Linked DNA regions of Homo sapiens: region 1 is linked to region 2. The links are contacts of gene promoters, found by promoter capture Hi-C in blood cells and fetal thymus (Javierre and others, 2016). All regions are on one chromosome and are shown on one strand. Each heading gives the region's core, a stretch centred on a gene start or on the middle of the fragment in contact. The rest is flanking DNA. Distances are from core to core; before and after follow the strand shown. Region 1 has its middle 34 kb from the start of NPAS2. Region 2 holds the start of NPAS2-AS1 (NPAS2 antisense RNA 1).

Region 1 (4,296 bases), core at 1,238-3,737, 190 kb after region 2:
CAGCACACTCAACACCTCTCCCTCTTTGTCCTGGCTGTATAGTATTTCATTCTATAATGTTAAGGGTTAAATTGTGTCCCCCACAAAAAGATATGTAACTCCAGTACCTCAAAATGTAACCTTATATGTAGATTGTATTTACAGATTAATTAAGTAAAAACGAAGTCATTAAGTGGGCCCTCATCCAAAATGACTGGTGTTCCTATTGTGAACAAAAGTTCTTTGAAAAAGAATTTAGAAGAAAGAGACTTTATTCTAGTAAACAGTTTGCAAACTAGGAAAACACAGCCTTTGTTATGAAACAAAAATTTGTTCCAGAGAGCAAAAGGAAGACAGGTTTTATAGCAAAAGTTCTTGCCCAGGTTCCCAATCAGGTCCATTTATGCAAATGAAGGATTGAGATTCATTTAGTTCTTACTGGTTGACACAACTGAGTTCTTATTGGTCAGTGCAGCTGAGTGCCCATTGCTAGATACAGCTGAGCCCTGATTGGCTAAGGTAGATGAGCACTGATTGGTTGGTTATGGTGAGCTCTGAAAGTCCCAAAGGTTAAAAAGTGTGGGTTTTTGGGAGAACATAGAGTACATGCGTGACCTCTAGGCAGCAAATGGCTGCTTGGCTCTATTTTAAATTTAGGCCCAGTTAGCCACTTAAAGGGTTGGCTTTTTCAGGTTCACATTTGTTCACATGATTAAAAGGGGAACTTTAGACACATAGAGCGGGAAGTTGATCTGAAGAGCACGGGGAGAAGATGGCTGTCTACAGGCCAAGTAGAAAGGCCTCAGAAGAAACCAACTCTGCCAACACCTTGGTCTTGGACTTCCAAACTCCAGTACTGTGAGACAATAAATCTCTGTTTTTAAGCCACCCAGTCTGTGGTACTTCGTTAGGGTAGCCTGAACAGACTAACACATATGGTGCATCATAATTTATTTTACTAATCTCTTTGATAAACACTTTGAATTCAAAAGAATACTTTTCACGCATTAGGAAAATGCATTAGGTAATTGGAAAAAACCCCATGTAGTAAGTTCTTTTTTTGTAGAATAAAAAATTCTTTAGGGGGTGTTAATACTTATCCATCATTCTTCAGGCTGGATTATTTGCATTTGAACATATCAAGCTTTCTTAAAGTAAGTCCACCTATAAACCAGATGCCTGTGCAAGTAGACAAAGTACAATTACAGAGATTTCATATGTAATAGTGAGATCATGAGTGAAAGAGAGTCAGGTGACATTATTAGGAATCTTTTGGTTGCAAGTGACAGACACTGCACTTGAACCAGCCTGAGAGAACAAGGAAACTAATTTTAAGGCTCGGTGTCCTGCAGGATCTAGGAATAGCTGGATGTCAGGGCAAACAGACCAGGGACTCAAACACCCTCAGAACACTCTGTTGCTAAATTTAGTCCTGCCCCTCTCTGGACATTTGATCAATTGTCCTTCTCTTCTAGAGATCAGCTTCCTCCACTTTTGTGGTCTGGCTTTGAAAGGTCTCTGATGGGCTCAGCTTGGGTCAGGTGGTCACGCCAGGACATACCCTGGTGCATCTTGAGAGAAGAGTCACTATACTAATCTGACAGCAACCTTGGGCACAATTTGGATGATGGGAGTGGAGCAGCATGAGGGTGGGGGCTGGGTACTGTCAGAGTAAGGGGGGTGATGTTTGAGTGGCCATCACCTAGGGTCTCCTCATTGTTTTTGACAAAAATTTCCTGGAAGAGGTAGAATTTCAGCAGTGCCACCATTTGGAGAAAACCTAAGGCTTTGTCATACCCAACCCAAGGACTCTGGTCATGCCATCTTCATGGGCCTTAGAGAAGACCCCCTAACTGAGTAGAGTCACCCTTGACAGGTAGAGGCCACCAAATGTGCCTATCCTCTGCAGCTGTGCCATCTTTCCAGGCAGAAGCAAAAAGCAGCAGGCATGACTGCCGAAACAAGACTGGGCTCTGCCTGCAGGAAAATCCGGGCTGTGGTGGTGGCTCAGCGCCTGCCAAGCAAAATACCAGTTAGGAGATGTCGCTGGCATGCAATTTAAAGACTCACTTGACTAGTACTTGAGGTTATTTAGAAAAATACCTTTGGTCACATGCTTCCCAGAATGTTATGTACTTGAAATGAATCATCCCTACCCAGCCCAGAGCGATTTAATTACAATCCCCTCCCGTGTTACTTCTTTTAAAACTTGACCTTCTTTTCTGGTTGCAATTCAAATTCGGCAAAATATCAACTTGGTTTTCTTTTTTGGAAGCCGAGGAGGAATCTTTCTATAGCTGAACAGTTTCAGACAGGAAGAAGGGACCGAGTTCCACGGTGAGAAGCCTTGCAATACAGCAGTGACTGCAGATGACCTTTAATAACTAGGAAAATATCATTCATCTGTGAGGGTTGTTAGATAATTTGTCTCAACATCATACCCGGCTTGTAAGCAAAAACAAACATCTGAGGTAATACAAACAGACCAGGTTCCTAGTAATCTGGTGAGATTATGCCAGCCACACACTCTTGATGTGTGTGTCTCTAGGTGGGGGTCACTGTTCATACACAATGCTGGGGGGCTTTAGGGGTGATGCACTTGATGTGAGTTTTGCTTTTCTAAATCTGAGCATCCTCACTGGCTTGTGTTATTGTATTTGGAGAACCACCCGTGCCAAGGGTGTGTCCTCTTAAGTAAGCATCCATAGCAAGGCACCTCTTGCTTGCCTGAGCGCTGATGCATTGAGTGGGTAGAAATGCCTGCTTGCTCTCAGTCCTAAGGTTGTTTCTTCTGCTGCGACCTGGATCCTGGTGGCCCGACATGGGCTGTGGAGACAGACAAGCCTGCAGCCACGTCTTTCCTCTGCCATTCACCTAAGCTCTCCGAATCTTAGCTTCCTCATTGGTTAAATGGGGATAATAATAATAGTGCCTACATCACAGAGCTGTTGTGAGGATTAAATGAGATAATCTATGTGTCTGCCACAAATCAGGAATTCAATAAATGGCAGTCTGTTCTGTAAAAACCACAATATCAGCTCAAATTGGAATCAAGTAAGTCTCCAATAAAATAAAAAGCAAAGGTTTCCAGTCATAAATCATAAGAAATACCATTTTAGACTGATAGAATGCTTTTCATTTTGCAGTGCGATCACTTCTATTATCTCATTTTATTTTTCTGCAATCCCCATGCGAGAGGCAGGACAAGGATCATGAGCCCCGCCTGTGGATAAAGCAACTGAGGCTCAGACAGCCTTCATTTTTCCATGCCAAGTGCCGAGGGCAGACCCGGCCTGCGATGGTGCCCTCTGAGTGTGTGACTAATGGCGCACAGGCCATTGCAGCAGTATCGGCCATAGAACAGGGTGGCCATCAGGGTGCAGGGTGAAGAAAGCATCCAAAACAGCAAGATATCAGGACTAGATTTTAAGCTCCTGAGGGCAGGCATTGCAACTTGAATTTTTTCACAAACGTCACAGTTTGTAGCCTGGACTCTGCATATAGTAGACAATATATACCTTTTCTGTTCGTAATACCATTTCTGCTCATAAACCATGCCTAAGTTGCTCTGGTCAGCCATTATGACTGACTAGTCACACTTTAAAAGTTATAAATCAACCAAAGGGTTATTCATCTGAAGTACGAAAACGGGCTGTGCAGATGATTTAATAGAACGGCCTTTGACCCTGAAACTGCAGATGATATACAGCCAGGAGAACAGGCTCTGGGGTCAGACTCGGGCGAGCTCATGAACCCCCTGAGCCCCAGTTTTCTCATCTGTAATGCAGTGTCAGTAATACTCACCTTGCAAGGCTTTTTGTGCAATTGAGAGAAAGTGCATATGAAGTGACTGGCACGTGATAGAAGCTTAACAATGTTGATTAGTGTTATTCCTTTTTAATCTGCTTTTTGGTTTCTGGTAGTCAGATTGTTTCCAACTCTGAATCTGAAGCAAACAATGCATGATTCAATAACATGTTGGACAAGGGTTTCTCTCTCATTTTCTTTATGTTCCAAATTAGTTGTTACATCCGGGAGATGTTGACCCTAAAAAACCACATTCGTAGATGTCAGTCAGGTGTTGATCAAAACCTATTGTTCTCGAATCAGCTCTCATAGGGTGAGAGTGGGAAAGTGGGAGAACTCAGCCAGGAATGGGACAAAGTTCAACTTGGCCATCTTTCCAGAGAGCCACTGTGGGTTCCTTGAGATCCAGAACCTTCCATCCTTTCCTGGTGTCCGTCCCAGACCCCTTCTTCCCCAGGCCTCATTCTTGCTCACTCCCTCCTTTCCAAGAGTCATGCTTGGGAGGAGACA
Region 2 (4,485 bases), core at 1,311-3,810:
CCGTCTCCACAAAAAATACAAAATTAGCTGGGTGTAGTGGTGCATTCCTGGTAGTGGTGCATTCCTGTAATCCCAGCTACTTGGGAGGCTGAGGCAGAAGAATCGCTGGAACCCAGGAGGTGGAGGTTGCAGTGAGCCAAGATGGTGCCATTGCACTCCAGCCTGGGCAAAAAGAGTGAAACTCCGTCTCAGAAAAAAAAAAAAAAAAAAAAAAAAAATATATATATATATATATATATAGTTATTATTAAATATAGTACACATGACAGACTAAGAAGTTCAATAAATGAAAAATCAGAATTCCAAAAGAGACTGCATCACACCATCGTGTCTTGTAAACACAGACATTCTTCATAATGCAAGACCCAGAAGTTAAAGACATTTTCATTTTATGCCCCTTTGGATTAAAAGGTTACTAATTTCTTACCAAATAGGCCTTGGAAATTTAAAGAGAAAAACAGTATTCAGGTTTTTTTTTCTTTTGGCCTAATGAGGGTGAATATAGGCAGTTTTAATGAGTAGATTCCAGAAGGGTAGCTTTTTTACACCAATCTTCAAGCCTGACTCTGGCAAGCAGCACGCGTTAGCATGTGTCTTACTCCAGGAATGCATGAGAGACCCCCACTAAGAGGGCATATGTTCCGAAATAGTTTTCATCAGTGGTGACAGATGTGTGCCAAGACAGAGAGGGGCACCTGCTGCTGAACTGCCGTCTGGGACGCAGCTCTAGCCTGTGGCCATGGTCTGGGCAGAGCTAAGTCTCCTATGAGGGAACTGAAGTCAGAGCTCAGGCCTGGGCAGGGTTTGTCACTCCCCGTGTTCAGAACTCCCTGCTGAAGCACATCCCTGCTGTCCCCCTGCCAAACCATCTGGCAACCTCCTACCCACCTTTCCGGGGCCAACTCAAGCGTCACCTCCTCCAGGAAGCCACGTCAGACTTCCCTGGGTAGAATATTTCCTTCACGGTTCTATAAAAACGCATGCCCTGCCACGGCGGCGTCTCTGTTTACATGCCTGTCTCTCCCTTTAGTTCTGAGAACTAAAAGCAAGGGCTGACTTACATCTTTACATCCCTAACACCTCGCTCACTGACTGACCCAAATAGTAACTCACCGAATGTTGTTGAAACAAGGATGGAATTACTCAGCAAAGCCGTAATCCTTTTCTTTTCTTTCTTTCTTTCTTTCTTTCTTTTTTTTTAAACAAATGTGATATTTATAGTGCTGGACTCACGGCTTTTAGATCCTTTCAGTCTTTCTATGACATGCAGCCCAATTCAGACCTTTTCTAAAATACCATGGCCAATTTGGAGTCGTAAAGAACAAGAGGAATGTGGAAAAGTGGCAAAGAGGTGAACAGAGACTGTTAAAAGAATTAAAAAAACAGACTCTGGACTTCTGCAGCAACTTGGATGGAGCTGGAGGTCATTATTCTAAATGAAGCAACTCAGAAATGGAAAACCAAATATCGTATGTTTTCACTTCTAAGTGGGAGCTAAACTATGAGGTCACAAAGGCATAAGAATGAAATGATGGACTTTGGGACTGGTGGGGCAAGGGTGGGGGGATGTGAGGCATAAAGGACTACATATTGGGTACAGTGTACACTGCTCGGGTGACAGGTACACAAATCTCAGAAATCACCCCTAAAGAACTTATCCATACAATCAAACACCACCTGTTCCCTCAAAACTACTGAAATTTAAAAAAAGAAAACCCCAGACACTGGAAAAAAGAACTTGGAGACGAGAGGGTGGGTGTGGGGGGAACCTCATGGCTCGACACAGGCCACACACACATTGGGAGGGACATTCCCCCACGTCAGGGCCTTGGTTGGGACCTAAGTGTACAAGACCATCAGCGCAGCACACTGCGGACTTCTGGCTTGAGAGGGGCTGCCCTTTCCTGGGTCCCAGACTCACCTGTGCCATGGGAGCGGGCGTGCTCTGCAGAACGGTCTGAGGCAGGAGCTGCTGTGTGAGGTCGCAGGACGATGGGGAAGGCAGAGGGGCCTGTGGGAGAGAAAGGGGCTTTGTTACCACTGCTTCTGCCATTCCAGGGGACAGGGATGTGGTCTCTTGGTCCGGTGGGTTCTCTGCGTTCCGCACTGGGGTGAACAGCTCCAAGTCAAGAGTTCTAGAAAGTATAGGTGTCTGTTCCCTGGCTGCACTGCTTCCTACGCAGGGCACAAGGGCAGAGCCCCTGCACAACTGGTGCAGGCTTCCACCCCACCACAGTGTGCTCTGCCAGGCTGCTGCTACCTGCCCAAGCCTGGTAGCTCAGCTCTACTTCCCTTCCCTTGCCTGCTGTCCTGGACTCCGCCCTGGGTGGATTTGGTTGCTCTCCTCCCAAATGGATTAATTCTTAGCGGTGTCATCAAGCAGGACGACGTGCGTGGACTGCTACCATGAGCTGCTGTGCGTCCGTATCTTTTCTGCTCAGCGCTAATGCAGATGGACAGACACGCCATGCATGTTTGTCCATGAACTCATCCAGGCAGTGAGGACTGGGGCAGTTTCACCAGCCTCTGCCCAGAACCTTTTAAGAGACTCCTGGGAAGTGAGCTGAGTCACATCTGCGCTCCCTGATCACTCGGGTGGGTGGGGGAGACAATGTATAGTAACAAGAAATGAAACACTCTGCTTCACGGGCTAGTGGTTTTCTAGTGGTTTTTTTTTTTTTTAAAGAACAGTGAAAGGACTCGTCTGAAGTTATTCCGACACGGCCCCTAGTTGCTAGGGCCTATATAAAAAAGCAGCTCAAATGGAAAGTGTCACCCAGGACAGCATTGGGAGGAAATGACACCAGGAGACCTTGTTTCAGTGAGAAATCCCAGGCACAGGGCTGATCCAGAAGCTGGTCTGGGTTCTGTTTCCCTGCGCAGCTGGGAGGAGACAGAAGCACTCTGGGCCTCCGTTGTTGGCAAAGTGAGTCACACTGGACAGGAGAGTCTGGAAGAATGGCAGGCACAGCTTGCAAGCGCATCTGGAGGTGGCTGGAGAGAAAGTAAGTGGTCTTTGCCACATTCTACTTGAAAATAAAACGCATCGCCCAAGCTTCTCAAGCAGGGTGTGCACAGCCTTTATGGAGACAGCAAGCAGGAAGGTGGCACGTTCACTCCATCTCCAAAGTGACAGTGAAGTGTGGGTGGGAGGGGTTTGGCAACTATCTGGAGGTGGCCCCTAAAATTCCTGGGTACTTCTCCCGTCTAGAAGTGGAGGTCTATATCCCTCTTCATGGGTGAGCTCAGGGCTGCTTTGACCAAGAGGTATGGCAGTGGTGATACTATATGACTTCCGTGGCTAGGTCACAGAGGTCTGCATGGTTCCTGCCTGCGTCTCCAGGTGTCTCCTCTTGGAACCTGGAGTCCACCACCATGCCAGGAGAAGCCTAAGGCTTGAGAGGCCCATGCAAGTCAATGACGGATGGCCTCAGCTGAGCCCAGCCCTCAGCCACCCAGCCCGGCTGCTGGACATTCATGTGCAGACACCATCTGGTGGGTGCATTCCATAGCCTAGGCCCACGAGATCCCCGACACCAAGGAGCAGAGAAGTGCCATCCCCATGATGCCCTTTCTGAATTCCTGACCCAGACTCCATGAACTTCATACATGTGGTTGCTTTAGGCCACTAAGTTAGGTGTAGTTTGCTACCTGGCAATAGATGACCAGAGTGGTGCATGCCAGTGACTTTACATATAGCCAGGGCCATACATCCCGATGTTCTGGAAGGATCTGGCACATGTTGGGGACGCTACCTGATATGTGCAGAGGTACATTTTTGTTGACACTGAGCTGCTCAAATATTTTCACCAGCATGAAAGGGGATTCAAAACAGAAGAATCCTAATTGTGTAGCCCCAGGGGCTCTGGGGGTATGAGGGTATGACCCCGGGTTTGCAGTTTTGCCTTTAATCCTTAAAATTCACTTGGATTTTGTATTCTAATGGATATGCATCCATGTTAATTTTGTCATGCAAATGTTTAAAATTAGTTGCCAATTAAATTACTTAACTTCCCACCCCCATCTGCCACCCTACACTCTCAATCCCTAAGTAAAACGGATTCTCTGGGGAGACGCAGCACATCGCCTGGCTCTGCAGCCCCCACCACATTGTAGCGTACACCCGTGGAGGAGTTTGGGGTCACACACTTACCGGCATGGTGGCTGCCTGGCTGAGCCCGGGGACAGGTAACTCTTGGGGCAGGGTGGCTGATCTTGGCAAAGCCGGGGTGCTGGCCTCTGCCATCAGCTTGGTGGGAGTGGCTGTAAGAAAGCAACGAATGACCTTCTAACTTCCATGTACTTAGCATGTACTCATCCGAAGAGGGGACCCATGACCGTGGTGTGCACAGTACAAGAGCTCGCTTGGGATCTCTGATAAAGGAAGTCCACCATGCAGGGTTGAGCTGAACCACAGAAGCCCAGCCTGGGAGCAGGTAGGAGACACCACAAACACTCCCTAAACTTCATTTCGGCTGCTTGGTC

What was found. Contacts are between HindIII fragments. The CHiCAGO score rates a contact against its expected background, and 5 or more counts as called.
Region 1: a fragment that was not itself captured here is called in contact with the fragment with the promoter of NPAS2-AS1 in region 2 in 4 of 17 cell types (endothelial precursors, M1 macrophages, M0 macrophages and 1 more); the score reaches 9.0 in endothelial precursors.

Annotation. Positions count from the first base shown.
Region 1 is chr2:100,784,222-100,788,517 of GRCh38, reverse strand. No RefSeq gene overlaps it. Among named protein-coding and RNA genes, the nearest start is that of NPAS2, 34 kb to the left of the region's middle. The HindIII fragment of the contact is 2,723 bases long and covers 1,126-3,848 here.
Region 2 is chr2:100,975,236-100,979,720 of GRCh38, reverse strand. NPAS2-AS1 (NPAS2 antisense RNA 1) reads left to right here and starts at 2,560. Exons shown (of 3, transcript NR_110213.1): 1 at 2,560-3,005; 2 at 4,308-4,436. NPAS2 (neuronal PAS domain protein 2) reads right to left here. Exons shown (of 21, transcript NM_002518.4): 14 at 4,154-4,263; 15 at 1,922-2,011. The HindIII fragment of the contact is 3,647 bases long and covers 1-3,057 here.